2 separate regions of the Homo sapiens genome follow, and region 1 is linked to region 2. The links are contacts of gene promoters, found by promoter capture Hi-C in human tissues and cell types (Jung and others, 2019). All regions are on one chromosome and are shown on one strand. Each heading gives the region's core, a stretch centred on a gene start or on the middle of the fragment in contact. The rest is flanking DNA. Distances are from core to core; before and after follow the strand shown.

Region 1 (2,700 bases), core at 140-2,639, 260 kb before region 2:
GAAGAATCAAATAGACGCAATAAAAAATGATAAAGGGGATATCACCACTGATCCCACAGAAATACAAACTACCATCAGAGAATACTACAAACACCTCTACGCAAATAAACTAGAAAATCTAGAAGAAATGGATAAATTCCTCGACACATACACCCTCCCAAGACTAAACCAGGAAGAAGTTGAATCTCTGAATAGACCAATGACAGGCTCTGAAATTGTGGCAACGATCAATAGCTTACCAGTCAAAAAAAGTCCAGGACCAGATGCATTCACAGCCGAATTCTACCAGAGGTACAAGGAGGAGCTGGCACCATTCCTTCTGAAACTATTCCAATCAATAGAAAAAGAGGGAATCCTCCCTAACTCATTTTATGAGGCCAGCATCATCCTGATACCAAAGCCGGGCAGAGACACAACCAAAAAAGAGAATTTTAGACCAATATCCTTGATGAACATTGATGCAAAAATCCTCAATAAAATACTGGCAAACAGAATCCAGCAGCACATCAAAAAGCTTATCCACCATGATCAAGTGGGCTTCATCCCTGGGATGCAAGGTTGGTTCAACATTCGCAAATCAATAAATGTAACCCAGCATATAAACAGAACCAAAGACAAAAACCAAATGATTATCTCAATAGATGCAGAAACAGCCTCTAACAAAATTCAACAACACTTCATGCTAAAAACTCTCAATAAATTAGGTATTCATGGGACGTATCTCAAAATAATAAGAGCTATCTATGACAAACCCACAGCCAATATCATACTGAATGGGCAAAAACTGGAAGCATTCCCTTTGAAAACTGGCACAAGACAGGGATGCCCTCTCTCACCGCTCCTATTCAACATAGTGTTGGAAGTTCTGGCCAGGGCAATTAGGCAGGAGAAGGAAATGAAGGGTATTCAATTAGGAAAAGAGGAAGTCAAATTGTCCCTGTTTGCAGATGACATGATTGTATATCTAGAAAACCCCATTGTCTCAGCCCAAAATCTCCTTAAGCTGATAAGCAACTTCAGCAAAGTCTCAGGATACAACATCAATGTACAAAAATCACAAGCATTCTTATACACCAATAACAGACAAACAGAGAGCCAAATCATGAGTGAACTCCCATTCACAATTGCTTCAAAGAGAATAAAATACCTAGGAATCCAACTTACAAGGGATGTGAAGGACCTCTTCAAGGAGAACTACAAACCACTGCTCAAGGAAATAAAAGAGGATACAAACAAATGGAAGAACATTCCATGCTCATGGGTAGGAAGAATCAATATCATGAAAATGGCCATACTGCCCAAGGTAATTTACAGATTCAATGCCATCCCCATCAAGCTACCAATGACTTTCTTCACAGAATTGGAAAAAACTACTTTAAAGTTCATATGGAACCAAAAAAGAGCCCGCATTGCCAAGTCAATCCTAAGCCAAAAGAACAACGCCAGAGGCATCATGCTACCTGACTTCAAACTATACTACAAGGCTACAGTAACCAAAGCAGCATGGTACTGGTACCAAAACAGAGATATAGATCAATGGAACAGAACAGAGCCCTCAGAAATAATGCCACATATGTACAACCATCTGATCTTTGACAAACCTGACAAAAACAAGCAATGGGGAAAGGATTCCCTATTTAATAAATGGTACTGGGAAAACTGGCTAGCCATATGTAGAAAGCTGAAACTGGATCCCTTCCTTACACCTTATACAAAAATTAATTCAAGATGGATTAAAGACTTACATGTTAGACCTAAAACCATAAAAACCCTAGAAGAAAACCTAGGCAATACCATTCTGGACATAGGCATGGGCAAAGACTTCATGTCTAAAACACCAAAAGCAATGGCAACAAAAGCCAAAATTGACAAATGGGATCTAATTAAACTAAAGAGCTTCTCCACAGCAAAAGAAACTACCATCAGAGTGAACACGCAACCTACAAAATGGGAGAAAATTTTCACAACCTACTCATCTGACAAAGGGCTAATATCCAGAATCTACAATGAACTCAAACAAATTTACAAGAAAAAAACAAACAACCCCATCAAAAAGTGGGCAAAGGATATGAACAGACACTTCTCAAAAGAAGACATTTATGCAGCCAAAAAACACATGAAAAAATGCTCACCATCACTGGCCATCAGAGAAATGCAAATCAAAACCACAATGAGTTACCATCTCACACCAGTTAGAATGGCAATCATTAAAAAGTCAGGAAACGAGGTGCTGGAGAGGATGTGGAGAAATAGGAACACTTTTACACTTTTGGTGGGACTGTAAACTAGTTCAACATTGTGGAAGTCAGTGTGGCGATTCCTCAGGGATCTAGAACTAGAAATACCATTTGACCCAGCCATCCCATTACTGGGTATATACCCAAAGGATTATAAATCATGCTGCTATAAAGACACATGCACACGTATGTTTATTGCGGCACTATTCACAATAGCAAAGACTTGGAACCAACCCAAATGTCCAACAACGATAGACTGGATTAAGAAAACATGGCACATATACACCATGGAATACTATCCAGCCATAAAAAATGATGAGTTCATGTCCTTTGTAGGGACATGGATGAAACTGGAAACCATCATTCTCAGCAAACTATCGCAAGGACAAAAAACCAAACACCGCATGTTCTCACTCATAGGTGGGAACTGAACAATGAGAACACATGGACACAGGAAGGGGAA
Region 2 (2,731 bases), core at 3-2,502:
CCTGACAATGGCCCCATCTTTGCCCACCCAGCATGGGGCAGCCCCAGGGTGGCCTGGGCTCCCACTTAGGTCTGCTCTCTGATGCCCATTAACAGATATGCTCCTTTCTAGGATGAGAAGATTGTTGACAATCTTATATAATATCCAGATTATGAGGGGTCGTGGGTTAGGCACGCAAGAGACAAGGGGCAGCTCCCACTCTAAGTCCGTTAAATGCAAGTGCGGGGAATGATGGATAGAACGAAACTGGGAGTCGGATGTCTCAGAGGAGAACAAGTGTCATTAGAGACCCCTCCGTGCAGTCTCCTCCTCCACCTCTTCTCACTTGCAAACTTCTTCAGGGGCGTGATGCCTGCTGTCACCCCGAAAGGCCACGAGGCCAGGTGCTCCCTGGGGCCCAGAAGACAAAGATCAGAAGAAGGGGCTGTAGGCCCGCTCACTAAGGCACTCAGGGGCCTAGAGAAGGTGAGAGTAAGAGCAGAGAGCCAAGAGGCAGGGCAAGAGGCCTGGGAAAGGACAGTGGGTTGGAGGCATGGATGGATGGACCGAAGGATGGAGGGAGGGAGGATAGATGGATGGACGGACGAACTAACGCGGAGAGGGCGGGGGTCTAAAAGCACTGCAGCTGCAGGCAAATGCCGAAAAGGAGCAGGAGGTGTGGGGCAAAAGGCGAAGGAACAAGGGGGGTGAGGAAGGGGGCACAGAAGTGGGGTGCGTGGGAAACACGTGGAGGACTGTTGCGGACAGGGAAAGCTGGAGGCAGGTGCAGGAGGGTCGCGAGCTGAGGGGCAGCAGGCAAGGAGAAAGATAAAGGCAAGCCTATATGGGGGCAGGTATTAGCGACTGGCAGAGGCAGAGGTTGGCAGGGTGGGCTGCGAGCGGTGAGCAGGCGCTAGGACCCGGAGGCGCGAAGGTGACGGAGCGGGCGGGCACTAGGACCCGGCGGGTCCTTTGTTTGGGGGGCCGGGGAGCCGGACGGCGGCTCCAGTCGGCGGCTCCCCTCAGCTGGCGGGGGCCCGGAAGGGGGGAGGGGAGATAGTGATGGGGTCCCCGGACTTTAGGGTGGCTTTACTCACCGTCAGCCGCGGGCAGGTCGGCCCGCTCCACCCACGAGCTCCAGCTCTGTCCCGCGAAGTCATCGAGACTCGGCACCCGCCGCTCCAGAGCGGCCATTGCTGCCGCCGCGCGTTCACGCACCGCCATCACCGCCGCGGACGCGCGCCCGCCCTGGCGCCGCCGCCGCGCGGCCCCCTCCCCCTCGCCCCGTCGCGGGCACGCCTCCCCTCCTCCCCACCTGCCTTTCCAGCGCAGTCTTTGCGCAAGCGCAACACAGGTTGCCTGTTCCCCGCGCCCCCCCCCCCCCCACCCACTCACAGCCTTCTGGGAAGTGTAGTCTTGGAGCGGATGCTATTGCCTACCGAGCTTGCAGCAAGAGTCCCTCCGAAATGCACAATTGCAGGGGGAAAAGAGAAGACCAAAGCTCCAGGACCTCCTCTTCTAACCCTTATGCACACATTATTTGTGCTACCAGTCCACTCTCCCAAGCTCACTGCATCTCTCCCCAGCCCCAAACCTCTCTGCCCAGACGCCCCTCTAAGCCGTGCGTCCGCCAGCTGGCTGGCGCCCCTTCCCGGGCTGGCGGCCACGAAGCGACTCCGCTCCCCTGTAGATCGAATAGGGTAGGTGCAGGGAGGTGGGCGCTGTGAATCAGAAGGGCAAGGGGAGGGAGTCTGTAGGAGGTGCTGAAGGACACAGGGGTGGTGTGGGGGAGGGCCTCGGCTCCCGTGTCGTGCCTCCTCTGTGGGAAACCCACGCTGCCCTGATGCAGAGCAGAGGGTTGGCGTGGCGTTGTCTGGATTTGAGAGGACCTGGCCAAGCTGACCAAGATCACCTGTCATGATGACAGGATGACAGAAGGCTGTCTCCGAGCCAGAGCCAGCCCCAGAACTGGGGTGGCCCCGAGGCAGCTGGTGTTTGCAGCATCTCTGCTGATCTGTCTCTCTTCTCTTGAGAACTGCGATCGATACCCTGTACAGCCTCTTCCCAAACCCTGGCTGGACCCTGACTCCATCCATCACTTTGCCTTCTTTTTCTAATGAATACTTTCTCTGCTGGAAGGGCTGCTTCTGAAGCCTCGGCATAGGGAGATTTCTCATCAGAGCTGTCATCTTCCTTGCTAAGGTCTGGAAAGTACCTTAATCATCCATTTCTTTCATCTTCTCAGCTGATAACATTTCTTCCCACCCTCACACAATCAGACAAAAGTCTGCCTACTCCATTTCCCGCCCCCCCCCCGCCGCCATCGCATTAAAAAAGTAATACTAATCCTTTTTCCTCCTCAACCTCTCACACCTCACCCCCGACGCTTGACCCTTTAGCTAAGGGGAAAACAAGTTGGGGAGCAAGACCTCAGATTTTCTTCTCCTTTTCATCCAGGGAAGGTGTAAGTACTTCAAGAATAATCTCTGAGGGCAGGGAATCTCAACCTGAGACCCACAGATGATCCCTAGGGCATCCAGGAATCAGGTAAAAATTAAATGTTCAATTGTACCCAAGGTATTTTTCTAGGGGATGTAAATGTAGTGTGTGACTCTCTGAAGAGGGATAGAGGTGCAAGTTTGTTCAACAAGAAGCTGATAGTTAAGAAAGTGAAGCATATGGCCCTCAACTCCTGACAGGAAGCCTGTTTGGGTCACAGATGGTAGGAGAACAAATGGAAACAGCTTTGTGG

What was found. Contacts are between HindIII fragments. The study calls those that stand out against the background at their distance.
Region 1: a fragment that was not itself captured here is called in contact with the fragment with the promoter of ATXN7L2 in region 2 in 1 of the 25 tissues and cell types used here (adrenal gland).

What each region holds. Positions count from the first base shown.
Region 1 is chr1:109,742,964-109,745,663 of GRCh38, reverse strand. No RefSeq gene overlaps it. Among named protein-coding and RNA genes, the nearest start is that of GSTM3, 3.3 kb to the right of the region's middle. The HindIII fragment of the contact is 3,640 bases long and covers 1-2,700 here.
Region 2 is chr1:109,482,426-109,485,156 of GRCh38, reverse strand. ATXN7L2 (ataxin 7 like 2) reads right to left here and starts at 1,252. Exons shown (of 11, transcript NM_001350175.2): 1 at 1,077-1,252. The coding sequence starts at 1,203. RefSeq lists enhancers at 543-1,162, 1,163-1,780 and a silencer at 1,180-1,349. The HindIII fragment of the contact is 8,644 bases long and covers 1-2,731 here.